Linked DNA regions of Homo sapiens: region 1 is linked to region 2. The links are contacts of gene promoters, found by promoter capture Hi-C in blood cells and fetal thymus (Javierre and others, 2016). All regions are on one chromosome and are shown on one strand. The core of a region is centred on a gene start or on the middle of the fragment in contact, and the rest is flanking DNA. Distances in the headings are between cores, read along the strand shown.

What was found. Contacts are between HindIII fragments. The CHiCAGO score rates a contact against its expected background, and 5 or more counts as called.
Region 1: a contact is called between the fragment with the promoter of KCNG3 here and the fragment with the promoter of THADA in region 2, in 5 of 17 cell types (monocytes, fetal thymus, non-activated CD4 T cells and 2 more). The highest score is 12.2, in monocytes.

Annotation. Positions count from the first base shown.
Region 1 is chr2:42,492,231-42,496,341 of GRCh38, forward strand. KCNG3 (potassium voltage-gated channel modifier subfamily G member 3) reads right to left here and starts at 1,752. Exons shown (of 2, transcript NM_133329.6): 1 at 607-1,752. The coding sequence starts at 1,271. It also overlaps a transcript of MTA3 not described here. RefSeq lists enhancers at 1-696, 697-1,454, 2,779-3,073 and silencers at 1,535-1,624, 1,805-1,854, 1,945-2,024. The HindIII fragment of the contact is 17,203 bases long and covers 1-3,525 here.
Region 2 is chr2:43,593,661-43,598,040 of GRCh38, forward strand. It overlaps THADA (THADA armadillo repeat containing), which reads right to left and starts at 2,378. Exons shown (of 38, transcript NM_022065.5): 1 at 2,271-2,378. The HindIII fragment of the contact is 4,194 bases long and covers 1-3,238 here.

The DNA of each region.
Region 1 (4,111 bases), core at 502-3,001, 1.1 Mb before region 2:
ACAAGAGGTTTGCTAACTCCATACTTTGTAGGAAAAGGGGGAAGAAAAGGGCACAGACATCCATTATTTAGAGTCTATCGATAAATTAACCTGCTTTATAATATAACGATTCCATTACAGCACATAGTATGCCGGGGGCAGAGTGTATAGAATGTGTGGAGAGTGCACATTTCACCATAACAAGAATCCATCTTTCCAAACACTACCAAAAATTGGCAAATAATTCAAACTGCGCTTAGTTCAAGGCTTAATTGTTGAACCCTAACAATAAAAGTTCAGAAAAATGTAATTAGCAGGTTGCTCTCTGCGCAAAAGTAAACTACAAAGAGGGGACATTTGTCTATCTCTACACGCCCCTCCCCATGCCTGAGGATTTCGCCCTCAAGAGGTGCGTCTAGTGTAAGGGCCAGACCCCGCTGGTGCCCCGGACAACGGGGTAGGAGTGGGGACCGACCGGTCCCGTAGTTGGCCGCGCCTGGGCCTCGCTGGGCGCGCACCCCGCTGGCTCGGTCGCCCGGAGGCGGACAGGACGGAGACGGGACGTATGGACGGGACGGACAGACGCGACAGGACGGACGGGACGGGTAGAGAAGCAGTGCGTCCTACCCGGAGGGCTCCCTCCCAGGGCCGGCGGAGTACCTGCTCCGGTCATCCAGGCTGCGGTTGTCGGCGGCTGCGTTGCGCCAGTCGGGCAACGTGCTGGCGCACAGCACCACCATGGACACGATCACGAACACCACCGACACGCTAGCCAGGATCTGCGCGGCCAGCGACGACGTGGGCTCCTCGAAGGTCCGCCGCATGCGCTCCAGCCAGCGCCTGGAGGGAGCCGCCTCGGCCCCGCCGGGGCGCGCCTCGTCGCGGCCCAGCACGCCCGGCTCGTCGGCCGAGTAGAAGGTGTAGGTGTCGGACATGCGGTCGTCGAGGCGGCGCTGGCAGCAGTACTCGAGGTGCGCGCCCTCCAGGCCCCAGTAGATCATCTCGTTGTAGAAGGAGAGCTCGCACATCCGCGGCGCGAAGCGCAGCTTGCCGTGGCCGCGCACGTAGAGCAGGATGAAGCCGAAGGCCTCCGAGTGCCGGTCGAAGAAGTACTCGTTGCGCTCGCGGTCGTAGTCGTCGCACACCTCGAGCACGTCGCGCTCGGAGCGGCAGCCGTGCAGCCGGCTCACGCGGCGCAGCGGGAAGTCCTTCAGCAGCTCCCGGGACAGCGAATACCGGGCGCCGCCCACGTTCAGCACCACCGAGGCCGCCCCGCTGCGCCCGAAGGTCATGGCTGGCCGCCCGGGGGACTTTCGGCCCGAGGGCCCCGCTGCAGCCCCCCACCCCAAGCCGCCACGCGGGGCCTGCCTGCCCGTGGCTGACGGGGGAGCGCGCCGTCGGGGCCCGCGCTCCCTCGGGGCTCCGCTCCTGCCCTCCGCTGGCCCGGGGGTCCCTGGGCTCGAGTATCTCCGGCGCTGCTAGTAGCGCGCCCTCCGCCCGGCGGTACCTGCGGGTGGCCGGGGAGTCCTCGCCGGCGCCAGCGCTGAGCCCCACCGGCTGGGAACGCGGCTGTGTCCGCGCCGCCGACCCTCGCGCCCGAGGGCTGCGCACACCGAGGCCGCGGTGCCCTCTCCCAAGCCGCGGGGCCGACCCCCTGAGGGCTGCGGGCGCCGAATGGAGCCGCCGGGGCGGAATAGCTCCCCGTCTCCGGCGCTCCCTGCGGCCGCGAATCCGGCGGCCGCCCCGCCGCCGTCCAGAGGCGAGAGGCAAAGTGAGCGGGTTCGGAGGCGGCGAAGAGCCGGCTCGCGGCGGCGGGGGCGGGGCCTCTGTGCAGTCCTCCTCCTCGCCCGCCGGCTCCGCGCGCGCCGCTCACCTCCCTCCGCGCCGCCCTCCGCTTCCCGCCCGCGCCCGCACCTCCCCGGCTTGCTCGGGCTGGGATTCCCGGGCGCCCCGCCCTGGACCTCGGGCTCCCCGCCTCGTGACGCCGTCCTCCCCCTCCGCTCCGGCCCGTAGTGGCGGGGAGGGGTCCGCAGGGCGGGGGAGCGGGGAGCCCAGCGCCGGGATGCCTGCTCCCGCGTCCTGCCCTGGGCCATCGGGATGAATTGGGCAGTCCCCAGGGCCCCTTTTAACAGCCCTGGTTCAAAGCCCAGTGTGGACTCGGGTGCGGGGACAGACGGCGTTTGGAGAGCTTTTTCCAGAAACTGTCCGGAGCCCAGCTCGGGTTCTGACATCGCCCCTAAGGATTTCTCAGGGAAGGCATCCCAGCCACGGCTTTTCCTGCCGACTTTGCTCTTCCTACCGCCGCGCGGGGCGACCCACGTACCGCGTGCTCAGAGGGCGGCTACACGCCCCATCCCCCAGCCTCGGTGCCGCCTGCCAGCCCGCGGAGGGAAGCGGTCCCCGACCCGGCCCCGGCCCCCACGTTCTGGGGCGCGAGTCCTGAGAAGGCGCCTAACGTGTAGCGCGCCTGGACCCTCTCGAGATGCTGCCCTTAGAGTGGGATGAAAGTCTGGGGAGGAACGCCTTGTCACCGGCAAAAACAGCCTTTCTCTTGGTCTTCGTCTGCATCCTCCTTTTCAAAATATCTTGATTTCCCCCGCGCACCCCTGACCCGGCTGCAGCACCGGCCCTCCGAGCGGGAAGAGCCCCGTGAAGGCTCCGCAGAGCGATCTACCCCGCGCTCTTGTCCGTGCCCAGAAAGCGGGTTCCACTTGGCAGGGATTATTTTAAACTGCTACCAGCAATTCATTCACCTGACACCCGACACCGGCAGCCCAGCCCGCCGGAGGCGAGACAGGTGAGTTGTAAGGCGAACCGTGTTAGATGCAAAACAAATACTAGAAGAAAAAAATAAGGGTGGGGTAGGGTGAGATGCGGTCATCTGACCACAGGGTAACCTGGCTGGTTAAAGGGAAGAGTTTTTCATTGCCCTCTACTTTTCGTAATTTTGTAGGATTGTCCGGTGCCCGCTAGAGGTCGCCAAACGGAGTCCTTTTGCGCTGGTTCTTAAGTGGATTCCTAGTGAAAAGGCAGACAACTGAAAATGTGAGTGCTGTCTTTTAAGTAAAATCACTCTCGGTGGCTTCTTAAAGAATGAAAATCTCTGTGAGTTGTTTATCCCCAGACTTGGATAATTTATCTTAAGAGCACTAAATGTGATTAAAAGCTCAAAAACAGGAGTTATTTGCTACTTTAGTATCTACTAAATAGTTTGCTATTCAGTATCTATTTTGCTATTTAGTGTCTACTGGGTAGATACTGCTACTTTGCTGTTTAGTATCTACTAAGTAGATATTAAACAAGAAAAATATCTGTAAGAAAGTGAGTTTCAAGACAGAATTGGAGGTGCTGATGGCCATGAGTTGGCACAGAGAAAGGGCAAAACATTCCTAGTAGCAAAATCTCGAATGTGGAGGTTTAAAGTCTGTGAAGAAGTATAATGCACTTGCCCACTGAAACAATGGGGATCTCAACTGCAGCATTTAAATTGGATCCCATAAGCAATGGAATCCCTGGAGGTTTCCATAGCAGAAATGGCTTGATGAAAGCTTTATTTCAGGAAGATGCCTTTGCACTTTGGGTCATTCTAAGGAGAAGGTCATTTCGCAACCCAGGAATGGGATCCCCAACCCCGTGTCTGTGAAGATGAAGAAGGGTCTGTTCTGAGAAACGCTGAGACCAAGAACTTTGCAGGTCTTGAAGATGGATTTGTTGTAGGACGTGAGGATGGGGAAAAGTTTGCAGATGTGAGCCAGAGATGAGCCTGGCTTGATACCAAGAGCCAATTCATCAGGAAGCCGTTAAAAAATACTTTCTAGAAGCATCACAAGCAATAGAAGACAGAACTATAGTGCCGATTGTTTGCTCTAACATTATTGTAGGGTTTATTTCCTGTGTTCTCTCCGTAGAATCCTTCTACTGTCTGTTGATTGAACCAGTTGAAGAAATATCTCATTTTAAATTACATTTGAGCTTAGAAAACAAATTAATTTGATGACAATACAATGTGTGCCTCCTAGGTATATTTTCATGCGATTTCTTAGAGAGATAGGCTTAAATCATTTCATTTGTTTCAAGAGTAATATTTTTATTTGATTTTAATATCATCAACCACTGCTGCAGCAGCAATACC
Region 2 (4,380 bases), core at 1,128-3,627:
TCTTGCTCCTTCGCCCATGCTGGAGTGCAGTGGCGCGATCTGCGCTCACTGCAAGCTCAGCCTCCTGGGTTCAGGCCATTCTCCTGCCTCAGCCTCCCGAGTAGCTGGGACTACAGGCGCCCGCCACCACGCCCGGCTAATTTTTTCTATTTTTAGTAGAGACGGGGTTTCATCATGTTAGCCAGGATGGTCTCGATCTCCTGACCTCGTGATCCACCCACCTCGGCCCCCCAAAGTGCTGGGATTACAGGCGTGAGCCACCGCGCCCAGCCTTAGACTTCTTGTCTTGCTATTAGATTAGTAAAAGTCAGTACAAGCTACAGGGAAACAGATTCCAGATCAATACAAAGGAAAAGCTCTATGGTCCCACTAAGGACTGGGCTACCTTTTAAACAAAGAAATTTTCCAACACCAGGAATATTCAAAGAGAAGATGACTGAATATTTTCTCTTGGACTCCTGAAACAGCTCCCTAACTGGTCTCCTGACTTCTACACTTACCTCCAAAGAGCCCATTCTGTTTACAATCATCAAAGCAATCTCTTTAAAAAAAACTCTCATCAAATTGAATTACTTACTCTCTTCCTTAAAACTTTCCAAGGGTTTCTAAATACACTTAGAATAAAATTCAAACTTGAGGCCAGGAGTGGGGGCTCGTGCCTGTAATCCCAGCACTTTGGGAGGCCGAGGCGGGTGGATCTCCTGAAGTCAGGAGTTCAAGACCAGCCTGGCCAACATGGTGAAACCCCGTCTGCACTAACTAAAAATACAAAAATTAGCCGGGTGTGGTGGCAGGCGCCTATAACCCCAGCTACTCCGGAGGCTGAGGCAGGAGAATGGCTTGAACCCAGGAGGCAGAGGTTGCAGTGAGCCGAGATCGTGCCACTGCACTCCAGCCTGGGAGACAAGAGCGAAACTCCATCTCAAATAAATAAATAAATAAATAAATAAATAAATACTTGAGATTTTGCCCTTCAAGGCCCTAAATAATCTGACCCTGCCTTCCTCCACTCTTCATCTCAAACCAATCTCCTCTTCACCATCTCAAGAGCTTTGTACTTCCTGATGCTCTTATTCCCACCTAAGAGGCTTTACACTTCTCAGTATCTCTGCCCCTTAATGTTCATTCCACATCTTTGCAAGACTGACTCCTTCTCACCATTCATGTTTCTGCTGCAACATTACCTTCTAAAAGCCTTCCATGACCACTCTATCTAAAATCTCACCAATACAACACACGTAGACACCATTTCCGTTAATTTTCTTCATAGCACTTACTAGTACCAGAAATTACCCTAACTTGTAAATTTGTATATTGTCTGTCTCACCTAGTAGCAAACTGAATGAAGGCAGCAACTTTAATCTATTTTGTTCATGTTTCAAGTCTCAATTTCCAAACCAGTGCCTGGCACATAGTAGGTGTTTAACAAACACTTCACGAATAAACAAATTAATTAACAAACATTTGTCAGAGATGTTCTAGAAGGGATATATGTCTTTAAGGGCAGGAAGGTGGACTATCTGGTACCTAAAATGCATTCTACATCTAAGTGACATTCTACATCTTAAGAACCTATGGTCTGTTTGGGAAGTAAGAAATCCATACAGTAATGGCAGGTGAGCAACCACTTAACCAAAAATGGACGCAGCTAGGAAAGTGTCGACAACAGAATAATTTGTAAAGGGATAGTCAGATCTAGAGGAATAGAGGCACGCTTCCTAAGAAAGTGACCATCGTACAAAGCCAGAAGAGACTGGGAAACCTAACTAGGGAGACTATTCTCTGGTGAAAGGTAAGCAAGTTTGCAGGAGGATTTGCTCTTGCAATTCTGAGGGCTACACAAAAGCAGACTCGGTAATTATGCCTGCTCAAATGATGCCTAAACGTGTGTCCTGAAGAACCAGGGTCCCCAAGGGGGTAAATCCCGTGTCTACCGCAAGGCCAGAAGGTGCCCAGTAAATTACACTCCTCCTAGGTCCCACTTACTGCTTCCCTTTAGAACGCTGCTTCACTCTACACCTTCCTGGCTGACTCCCACAAACATTCTCTGGGCGATTTCTGAACCACGTGGAGTCGAGGAATGACAGTGGGAGAAAGTGGTTAAAGTGCTGTCTCCATGGAGACCTTAGCGACCGGAAATCAGTTTCACAGCCGCCGAATCCTGGCGATACCAAAGGATGGGAATTGGTGTGGCTCGCCAGGCAGCCCTAGCAAAACTGGCCGAGCCGAGCTACCGCGGGTCTGGCAGGCAGGACACCTGGGAGCCAAACCTCGTGCACGTCGGCGTCTGAGAAGAGTCGCAGGCGCCTGGTCCAGTCCCGGAAGCAGGTCTCCTTCTACGGCGTCTCCGAGGCTCGCAGCGCGGTCCACGGTCGACTACCGGGTCAGGGCAAAGGGAGGGAGAGAGGGGTAACCTGGAGGAGTCATCGCGAGAATTGACCAAACGCAGCTCCTCCAATCAGGAGTTCGAGGAGGTCGTGACGTCACCGGGGTGGCCGGTAGCAATCCGGTTTAGTTAACCAGCCACTGTACCGTCAGCGCCGCGCGTTCCTCATGGCGTTAGGGCTGACGGGCCTTGTTGCTGAGGGGCCTTCATTCAACGGTCTCTTGTTGAATGAAAAGACCTCATTCTCTTCACATGCTTGGACGCCTGGGAAGCGCTTTTCTCCCAATCCAGACCTTCCACCTTTCTCCCACTCTGTTGGCCCAGTGCAGAGTCTAGGAGAAAACTACGTCTGGGACTCGGGAACGAGTCCAGGGAGTTTAGAGCCTGCGAGATGGGGCAGGGGTTTGGGCGGCGACTGAACGGAAGCCACGAGAAGGATTCGGACTAAAATGAGTAGTGCTGAACCAACGTGTGCCAAAGCGCATATATTCATTCAATAGATAATGAACTCTACTGTCAGAGCGTCGCCAAGCGCTAGCCTTGAAAGCTATCCCCTACTGAGGATACATGTATTACGCAGCACATACAAATTGTCAGATGGTTCAGTCCTTGAAAAATAAATACAATAACGGGGTGTCACTGGGAGCTGCGACAGTGGGCAAGATCAGGAAAGACCTGATGCTATTATCAGGAGTATTAATTTGGAAAATAGAGACATTTCAGTTCTCTAAACGTTAATGACTTAAGTTTTTAATAATTATTTTCTGAATTTTTTATATCAGCTTGCCTTGGTTTTCTTTATAGCTTTACCACATAATGTATGTATCACTATCTTGTTTCGTTCAATTTTGAAGCTTTTGGAATTGCGTATGTATTCTCCAGCAATTTGCTTCTTTCAGCATTGCTTTTCATATTCACCTACAGGTGGCTGTAGTGCTCTTCGCCCAGGCTGGAGTGCAGTGGCGCGATCTCGGCTCACTGCAAACTCTGCCTCCCGGGTTCAAGTGATTCTCCTGCCTCAGCCTCCTAAGTAACCGGGATTACAGGCGCGCGCCACCACGCTCAGCTAATTTTTGTATTTTTTAGTGGAGACGGGGTTTCACCATGTTGCTCATGCTGGTCTTGAACTCCTGACCTCGTGATTCGCCCGCCTCGGTCTCCAAAAGTGCTGGGATTACAGGCGTGAGCCATGGCGCCCGGACCGTAATTTTCCATTGTTTAATATACTTCATTATGTATCCATCCTGCTGCCTCTTAACATGTGCATTATTTCCAGTTTTTGTTCTAAACATTGCTGCTGTGAACTATGTTGTGCATGTCAGCTGGTGAGTGTGTGCAGACGGTTCTCCACCATAATTTTTTCTGGTATTTTTGACCCTGACATAGTAAGAAATACATTGCAGACTTTGAAACTGTGGACGTAGAAGTACTCACACATAACTGAAGTAAAAATTTCTTGAAATGCTACTTTACAGGAGCTGTGAGATTTTATTTCCTTTTTTTCTAAATTATGGTAAAATACACAGCAAAATTTACCATTTTAACCATTTTTAAGTTTTATGTTTTTTAAAATATGTATATTGTTTCAGACCTACTAATTATATAACTCAGTGGGTCCGAACCCCTTTTTTGTTGGCAGACACTGCAACTCTTCACCCTGCACAGCGAGAGGTGGGCTAGGGAGCAAACATAATAAACATATGTTGAAAGGTGAAGCTACTGTTAAAACTTCAGACAAATTAAACTTAACAGGGTTTAATTGAGCAAGGGGAAAAATGATTCTCAAATCGGGCAGTCTCCAGAATCATAGCAGATTCAGAGAGACTCCAGGGATGCCTCGTGGTCAGAGCACATTTACAGACAAAGAAAGGAAAGTGATGTACAAAAAGCAAGTGAGGTACGGAAGCAGCTGGATGGGTTACAGCTTGGCATTTGCCTTACCTGAACACAGTTTGAACAGTAAGCATTGTATGAATAGTTGAAGTATGGCTGCT